3 separate regions of the Homo sapiens genome follow, and all the other regions are linked to region 3. Evidence: promoter capture Hi-C in 16 types of primary human blood cells and fetal thymus (Javierre and others, 2016). All regions are on one chromosome and are shown on one strand. Each heading gives the region's core, a stretch centred on a gene start or on the middle of the fragment in contact. The rest is flanking DNA. Distances are from core to core; before and after follow the strand shown.

Region 1 (3,063 bases), core at 473-2,972, 36 kb after region 3:
TTCACCATGTTGGTCAGGCTGGTCTTGAACTCCTGACCTCATGATCCGCCCGCCTTGGCCTCCCAAAGTGCTGGGATTGCAGGCGTGAGCCACTGCGCCCAGCCTGAGTATTAGGCTCTTTAGAGTTAGAAGAAATCTTTGTTATAACCCTGTTCAACTTTCCACCTAAAATAATCTTTTTTTTTTTTTTTTAGCATCTCTGACAAGTGGTCATTTAAACTTTGTTTGAATGTTTCATTTTTTGCGAACAATAGTTTTTGAAGCTTTGTTGCTTCCAGTGCCATAGCAGGTAGCTCCAGTGTAGTTGATGTACTGTTTTATGGATCTGTCATAGGTCACAGGGTCAATCTCCAGTTTTAGGAGAAATTAAAGCATTCATATAACATCTCATGTTACCATAGTTTTGAATTTTTCCAAATTCAGATTGAGGCATTTTAAAATTAGTTAGTTTCAAATAAAATAAGTATCTTACTTTAGTGCTGGGGAGTCTAGACAAATCAATCAAACTTTTTTCTTCTTCATCATTATAGACATTGAGACAAATTGTTTAGAAGAAAAAAGCAAGAGAGACTATTTTACACAGTTGGTATTAGCATGTTTGGTAAGTTTTTAAAAATATTTTTCCCTTTTAAAAATCTGCATTAAACAGTTGTAATAGAAGTTAATCATGTTAATGAAGGAGGATATTGACATTCAGTTGACTTTTCTCATAAGGTGAGATTTGGGTTTTGAAATGGAATGTTTTGTGAAATAAGACATGCTGTTTCTGTGAAATAAGCATGTAACCATATCCATATCACTTAAACTATCTATACATTTAAAACCTTTGGTGATATTCCTGACCTAGTAAGTTCCTAAGAAAAAGGTAAGCATTTATAAAGTAAGTAGAAATGATTGTAGACAGCTTTTAAATGGATTTTTTTCCTCATAAACTGTTAAGCAAAGAGTAAAAGAATAGAGGTAGTTTAAAAATGATAAATTCTAGAACTTGCCATGATTGTTGTCTGGTAAACCATTTGTGTTCATAAATTTAGAACCAGGGAGAACTGCCGTGGTTGAGACCTGGAAGAAGGTGCTTGTCTTTGCTATACTAGAATTTAACTTAAAGTAGGAGGCTATTAAGTGCTGTATTAGGTGAAAGTCCAGATAAGCCAAATGCAGTCATATTGAAAATTTCATCTGTAGTTCTTGTCATTTATAGGCAGTATACAACATGCATATAATTTTATAGTGAATTTTTTGAAAGCCGTTTATTAAATATTTCAATATTTGGAGTCAATATTTGTTAAATTGAACTTCTAAGCCTTTTTATAAATTGTAGGTTGTTATGTAGAGAATGTTATTTTTGTATTCTTATTTAGGAAGCTTTAGTTTGAATATATTTAACATTGTGGATGCAATGCTAAGGAATAAATGACCTTTAATATTTTTTAATACAGTATTTAGTTTCAGACACAGTTCTAAAGGAACGCCTGGATCCAGAAACACTGGAATCATTAGGGCTTATCAAACAATCACAGCAATTCAATCAAAAGTCAGTTAAAATCAAGACAAAACTCTTGTAAGTACACGTATCTTATGTTGCAGATCAAGTATCTGAGTATGTTTTTTCGTTCATATTTTGAATCCTAGTAGCTTCTAAGGGGACTTTGAAGATTGTTTTTTTTGTTTGTGGTTAGCATGTCTTGTGTTTTTTGCCTTCTAAAAGTAGCCTAATATTGAGTCATCAGTGATCTTTACCTGTGCAAAACCATTGTTACTTTTGCCCATATTCAAAGTTAAAATAATACTCATGCTTTCATCATTAGCAATAAAATAATTTATGACTGTGGCTATACTCAGGGTATATTCTTAGAGATGGAAATGGTGATATGTTATTGTTCCCTGATATTAACAATATCCTTTTCTTGTGTTACTGGTTTTCCCTATGTAATTAATATTGGGGTTCTCATATGAATCACTGTTATTTTCTACTCTAAAAGGTACACAAAGAGGTAAACTTTCAACAACTATTCTTAGGATTGTTGTAGGTTGGAGATAAGAAAATTCAGTGAGAATACAGTACTCTGTGCAAGCTTGTTAATTAAAATTAATTTTATCCCCTTAATGATATTTATCTGATTTCAGTTATAAGCAGCAAAAATTCAATTTGTTAAGAGAAGAGAATGAAGGTTATGCCAAGCTGATTGCTGAATTGGGGCAAGATTTATCTGGAAGTATTACTAGTGATTTAATCTTAGAAAATATCAAATCTTTAATAGGTAAGACATTTATCTGTATAGTATGTGTTGTTAAGATAACAAGTTATTTTAGCTATTGGAGAATATCCATAAAGACAAAATGAGTGCATTCCATCTATTTTTTTTTTCAGTTAAGGAATGGGAGAGGTGTTTAGCTTTTACTTTTAATGGTTTATCAATAATTATAAAATTTAGCATGATATTTGTGAGAAATCTTATTGTCACTATACCTTGTATGTTAATATTAGGTCCTGCTCTGTCTAGTCTTTCTTTTTTGTGGAGGGGATCCTGAGTGGTAAGCCAACACTTTCAAAAGAGAATGGATGACAAAGAACAGGATGGACTGTTCTGATAGAGTGCCCTACGTTTCTCTAGTATTTCTATTTTTAAGTATTTCTCAACCATTTTATGGAGGACCAAAAAGCAAACATGAAAACTTTAATACAGTAAATCTTCAGTGAACTTTTGAAACTACAGATGTGTAATTTTGAACTTGATTTTCAAAATAACTTTACAAGGGACTTTGATACTTATTTTATCTTTATAGTAGCCTTTTAAAGTAAGTGCAACAGCTGTTGTAAAAGTGTAACAGATAGGAAAGTTATTATTCTCCCTACCCTTTAAGTAGAATTCCTGTAGCATTACTGTTTTCTTTTTATTTGCATTGAGCATTTGGAAGAAGTAGTTGACTTCTGTAAAAAAGATGAATGAGCACTAGAAAAATAGGGTAATCCAGATTTTCCTGAGGTGGAAAGAGTTTTTTTATTATTTACTAGGTGTTGTGCTATCTTAGGGAAGATTTTGCAGTACCTGGGTCTTGAGA
Region 2 (2,912 bases), core at 60-2,559, 37 kb before region 3:
CGGTGAAACCCCGTCTCTACTAAAAATACAAAAATTAGCCGGGCGCGGTGGTGGGCGCCTGTAATCCCAGCTACTTGGGAGGCTGAGGCAGGAGAATCACTTGAACCTGGGAGGCGGAGGTTGCAGTGAGCTGACATCACGCCACTGCACTCTAGCCTGGGTGACAGAGCAAGACTCCGTCTCAAAAAAAAAAGAAAATTTCCCTGAGTTGAAGAAAGATTTGGGTTCGCAGATTAAAAGTGTTCACTGAGTCTTATGAATGATAATGAAAAGAGACACACATCAAAATTTATCCTTGTGAAATCCTTGAATTCCAAGTATAAAGAGAAAACCTTGTAAGTTTCCAAACAGAAAGAACACATTCTAGCTTCCAGCTAGCTTTGGCCACTGGGAGGCACTGGTAAAAGGCTGAAGACTGGGAACAGGGAGAAGCTTGGACATTTCTGTAGAACTTCCTCTCTGTCTTGGGTAATATGTCTGGTACTGGTTGCAGCTCCTCTATAACCCCAGATCCTGCCAGACAGGCTTGCGCTGGATAACCCAGATTCTTGGGCTCTGGTAACACCACTTTATTTATTTATTTATTTATTTATTTATTTATTTATTTATTTCTCTCTCTCTCTTTCTCTCTTTCTTCTTTTCTTCTTCTTCTTTTTTTTTTTTTTTTTGACAGAGTCTCGCTCCCAGGCTGGAGTGCAGTGGCGCCATCTCGGCTCACTGCAAGCTCCGCCTCCCAGGTTCACGCCATTCTCCTGCCTCAGCCTCCTGAGTAGCTGGAACTACAGGCACCTGCCACCACGCCTGGCTAAGTTTTTGTAATTTTAGTAGAGACAGGGTTTCACCGTGTTAGCCAGGATGGTCTCGATCTCCTGACCTCGTGATCCGCCCGCCTCGGTCTCCCAAAGTGCTGGGATTACAGGCGTGAGCCACCGAGCCCAGTCTTGTCTTGTCTTTGTTCTTTCTTTCTCTTTCTTTCTTTCTTTTTCTTTCTTTCTTTTCTTTCTTTCCTTTCCTTCCTTCCTTTCTTCCTTCCTTCCTTCCTTCCTTCCTTCCTTCCTTCCTTCCTTCCTTCCTTCCTTCTCTCTCTCTCTTTCTTACTTTTTTTCAGGGTCTCACTCTGTCACCCAGGCTGGAGTGCTGTGGCATGATCACAGGTCACTGCAGCCTCAACATGTCCAGGCTCAGGTGATCCTCCTGCCTCATCCTCCCAAGTAGCTGGAACTACAGGTGTGCACCACCATGCCTGGCTAGTTTTTTTGTGTTTTAAAAATCTACAACACAGAAAGGTAGAAAACAGTGGAATACCATCTGCAGAAAATTGGGAGAAAAGAACTCCTAACTAAAAATCCTGTACCAGGCCAGGCGAGGTAGCTCACGCCTATAATTCTCAGCACTTTGGGAGGACGAGGTGGGTGGATTACCTGAGGTCAGGAGTTTGAGACCAGCCTGGCCAACATGGTGAAACCCCGTCTCTACTAAAAATACAAAAATTAGCTGGGCATGGTGGCGCACACCTGTAATCCCAGCTACTCAGGAGGCTGAGGCAGGAGAATCGCTTGAACCCGGGAAGCAGAGGTTGCAGTGAGCTGAGATTGTGCCATTGAACTCCAGCCTGGGTGACAAGAGTGAAACTCCATCTCAAAAAAAAAAAAAAAAAATCCTGCACCAAGCTGTAGTAGGCTGCTTCTAAAATGGCTCCCAATGATCCTCACCTCTTCAATATTCACCCTCTTGTAAATCCCTCCTCTTGTGTTGGACCCAGCGACTTGCTTGTAACAAATGAGCCATGGCAAAAATGATGAGATGTCACTTTCATAGTTAGGTTACAAAAGACTGTAGCTTCTGTGTCTTGCTCATATTCTGTCTCTGGCTCTTCCTAAGTGATTACGCTGATGCAGAGGGCCCCCTGGCAAGGAACTGGGGCCTTTAGTCCAACAGCCAGCAAGGAGCTGAATCCTTCCAGCAATGATTTGAGTGATCTTGGAAGTGCATCCTGTCACAGTGAGCCTTGAGATAAGACTGCAGCCCCAGCTGACACCTTGATTGCAGCCTGTGAAAGACCCTAAATGGACACCTTGATTGCAATCTTATAGAGAATCTGAAGCAGAAGACCCAGTTAGGTCAGGACTCTAGGCTTCACAGAAACTGTGAGGTTATAAATGTGTTGCTTAAGCCATCAAGCTTTATTAAAAAAAAAAGTGGAATTCAAGATCAAATGCATTAAGACGAAAAGGGGGCATAAATGGTTCAATCCTTGTTGAAGTGATGAATCACAAACTTTTATGTACTGAAGTATCACAGCTTAATATTTACAGCAAACTCTCAGAAACCCAAGAAGATTTTGATAGAAAACCACCACCATAATGGGAGATTATAATATATCTCCTTCAGAACTTGAATGATCAAGTAGATGAAAAATAAGCTAGAAAATAGATGACTGAATAATGTGACAAACAAGTTCAACATATAATCATATATATGTATATTTCCACACGCATTTTAAAATGTAAACTATTTTGTTTTCCAGGTCTTGGGAACTCGGAAAAAAAATTTTTAATGTAAATTATGTTCTAATGTCTATCAACTGTGTGCTTCTTCACAGAGGAAAACTTCATGAATTTAAAGAAGCAGAGATTTGTAGAGGCAACACATTCTCATTATAATCCAGTAAAATTTAAAATAAATAATTGAAGATGGTCAAAATATCTTTACTACTTAAAAACTGAGGAACAGTCTCCTAGATACCCCTAGATCACGGCTGGGTGCAATGGCTTGTGCCTGTACTCTCAGTGCTTTGGGAAGCCAAGGTGGGAGGATTGCTTGAGACCAGGAGTTTGATACCAGTCTGGGCAACATAGCGTGACTCCTGTCTCTACAAAAATTTTGTTCAAGATCAAAGCCTAGGCAACATA
Region 3 (3,052 bases), core at 9-2,508:
CTCAGACGGGGCGGCTGCCGGGCGGAGGGTCTCCTCACTTCTCAGACGGGGCGGCCGGGCAGAGACGCTCTTCACCTCCCAGACGGGGTCGCGGCCGGGCAGAGGCGCTCCTCACATCCCAGACGGGGCGGCGGGGCAGAGGCACTCCCCACATCTCAGACGATGGGCGGCCAGGCAGAGACGCTCCTCACTTCATCCCAGACGATGGGCAGCCGGGCAGAGACGCTCCTCACTTCCTAGACAGGATGGCGGCCGGGCAGAGACGCTCCTCACTTTCCAGACTGGGCAGCCAGGCAGAGGGGCTCCTCACATCCCAGACGATGGGCGGCCAGGCAGAGAGGCTCCTCACTTCCCAGACGGGGTGGCGGCCGGGCAAAGGCTGCAATCTCGGCACTTTGGGAGGCCAAGGCAGGCGGCTGGGAGGTGGAGGTTGCAGCGAGCCGAGATCACGCCACTGCACCCCAGCCTGGGCACCATTGAGCACTGAGTGAACGAGACTCCGTCTGCAATCCCGGCACCTCGGGAGGCCGAGGCTGGCGGATCACTCGCGGTTAGGAGCTGGAGACCAGCCCGGCCAACACAGCGAAACCCCGTCTCCACCAAAAAAATACGAAAAACAGTCAGGCGTGGCGGCGCGCACCTGCAATCGCAGGCACTCGGCAGGCTGAGGCAGGAGAATCAGGCAGGGAGGTTGCAGTGAGCCGAGATGGCAGTACAGTCCAGCTTTGGCTCGGCATCAGAGGGAGACTGTGGAAAGAGAGGGAGAGGGAGACCGTGGGGAGAGGGAGACGGGAGAGGGAGACGGGAGAGGGAGAGGGAGAAGGAGAGGGACCCGATTATTTTCTTTTATCTCAGCAGTCAGCAGGGCGTAATGTAATTTATTTGCTTATATTTATGGCTTTCCCAAAGACTATTATTTCTCTATTCCCAGTGTCTAGCACATATTAGGTGCTTGAAAAATGCGTGTTTGTATTAGTGGTTAGGGGTAGATATTACGGAAGAAGATGAAGTCTACTTGTTGGCCTGTGGATGGCATTTCTCTGTTCTAATGGGAAGTAAGGCCGAAGACTTCGGAGGGCGCAACCCGTGTAGTAACCTCGCAAAGGGGCCCGCGAGTCTCCACGTCGTTGGCTGCCTTGCCTCGGGTTTCCGCTGGGTGGAGAGGAAAGTGGGGCGGGAAATCGAAAAACGAACTCTCAGCTCCCGGCATTCCTCGTGGGCGGTGCTCCCCTTTGACCCTTCGCTCGCGTGCTACACATCCGGGCTTCTGCTACTAGTGAGAGGAAGATGGCGGCCGCGGCTGTGGTGGTTCCCGCAGAGTGGATAAAGAACTGGGAGAAATCAGGGAGAGGCGAATTGTGAGTGTTCGGGCCGGAGGCAGGCGCACTGCCGGGCCGGGCCAGGGCGTCAGCTGCACTCTCACCTGTAGTGGGAGGTTGAGGGGGAAAGATGTACCCCCTCCCCCACCCGGGCGGCGGGCGTGGATGGTCGTCTAGGAGTTTCGAACTCGGGGAGAGGTGCTGTTTACCGCCGCGGACCTCCTTCCTTCCCTGGCCTCCCAGAAATCGCTACTGCCTGCGGTAGCTCGGCTTCCTTTAGCCTCTTAGTAGAACTCTTATTCCGCCCCTGCAGGTCTCCGCGCTCCCTCTTGGTCTCTTTTTGTGTCCCCCTCTTCGCTTGATCTCACTTGGCTCCTTTATCTTTATGGGGCTGAGCCGGGGCAATTCGGACTTTCCATCTCTCTCTGTGCCATTTCTTCACTCTGCACCCGTTGGACTCCGCAGTTTGGAGCTTGGCGCCTCCTCTGCCTGAAGTCCAAGGAGGGCGAACCGTCCCGGATTCCCCTCCCCTCCTCTTCGCCCGCTGCCGCGAAGCCCGGGGCGCCGCGAAGAACCCGGTTTGGCACCTCTCGCCCTCCCGGGGAGCGGTCTCTCGACTGTCCCGGCCTCGCGTAGCGCCGTGGGGAAGTGTGGCAGGGATTGCCGCTTTCCCTGAAGAACCACCGACATTTCTTTGCTCCGTCTTTTCACCTTAGAGCTATTTCGGGTTGGATTCAACTTTCGTCATTAAATGTTCCCTAAACCCCATTTTATCCTGGGACTGCAACTAATTCTGGCAGCTCTCCAAGCTTCTCCAGTACCTAGGATAACGCGTTTCCTTTAGTCGTGAAACTTTCCCCCGTAACACCGAAAACAGTAATTTGCCATACCCCTAGTCTTCTCGCCCCCACGTTAGAGCGCTCCCTCCTCCCCTTCCCCTGGAAGGAGTCGTTTAAGCAGCAAAGCAAACCTCAGATATAAGAACAAATATTAATAACATCTCATTTCCTTCTCTGGGTCGCTTTTAGATGCTAAAGCTCAACCCTGGATGAAATTAACCCTCGTTAGCCATTTTTGTCGTCCTTGCCCACCCCTCTCCATTTCTAGTAGCCAGTTTACCGTGGCTCATGCTAAAGATTCAAATCTTTGTAACTTCGTTACTTGGAACGAAACACGAGGAACGCGTTGCCGGATCCCGCGCTTGTAATAGTGCCAGCCTATGTGGCTTCCTCCCCCGCACCCCCCGCACTGCTGTATGAAGTCTTAACAGTGTGAGCTCTAGAATTCCCTAAATAAGCGGCTGTCTTAGCCACTTAAGTAGCTGAGTGACCTTGGGTAAGTTCCTTAACCACTTGGACTGTTTCCCCTTGAGTAAATTGGGAATAATAAGTACTCTACTCAAAGGATTGTTGTGAAGACTAAATAATGCCTGTAAAGCACTTGGCTTATAGTAAGTGCTCAAGTGATAGCTATTAAAAGTAATATTATTCCAACCTTTAGATATTTAAACTTCTCAGGACAGCTCATGCACTTAAAGTCTGTACCACTCAGGTTAGCAATTAATTGGTCTCTGACTTATTCATGTGTGTTTATTCTTGCACTGTAATGAATTGGGAGGCCTTTGAAATATAGGGACTATGTCTCATATTTCTTTTGGTTTAACACATGCCCCGCCCCCCCAGCCTATGCTTAGAATGCTTATTGGTTTATTAATTGTCAGAGAAGGCTATTTG

The links. The method cuts DNA at HindIII sites, captures the fragments that hold promoters and counts their contacts. A CHiCAGO score of 5 or more calls a contact.
Region 1: a contact is called between a fragment that was not itself captured here and the fragment with the promoter of THOC2 in region 3, in 2 of 17 cell types (M1 macrophages and M0 macrophages). The highest score is 5.6, in M1 macrophages.
Region 2: a contact is called between a fragment that was not itself captured here and the fragment with the promoter of THOC2 in region 3, in 1 of 17 cell types (M0 macrophages). The highest score is 5.9, in M0 macrophages.

Annotation. Positions count from the first base shown.
Region 1 is chrX:123,695,219-123,698,281 of GRCh38, reverse strand. It overlaps THOC2 (THO complex subunit 2), which reads left to right. Exons shown (of 39, transcript NM_001081550.2): 5 at 531-601; 6 at 1,440-1,561; 7 at 2,128-2,261. Among named protein-coding and RNA genes, the nearest start is that of THOC2, 36 kb to the left of the region's middle. The HindIII fragment of the contact is 710 bases long and covers 1,368-2,077 here.
Region 2 is chrX:123,768,130-123,771,041 of GRCh38, reverse strand. No RefSeq gene overlaps it. Among named protein-coding and RNA genes, the nearest start is that of THOC2, 37 kb to the right of the region's middle. The HindIII fragment of the contact is 1,749 bases long and covers 435-2,183 here.
Region 3 is chrX:123,731,258-123,734,309 of GRCh38, reverse strand. THOC2 (THO complex subunit 2) reads left to right here and starts at 1,258. Exons shown (of 39, transcript NM_001081550.2): 1 at 1,258-1,358. The coding sequence starts at 1,288. RefSeq lists an enhancer at 1,243-1,322. The HindIII fragment of the contact is 10,140 bases long and covers 1-2,130 here.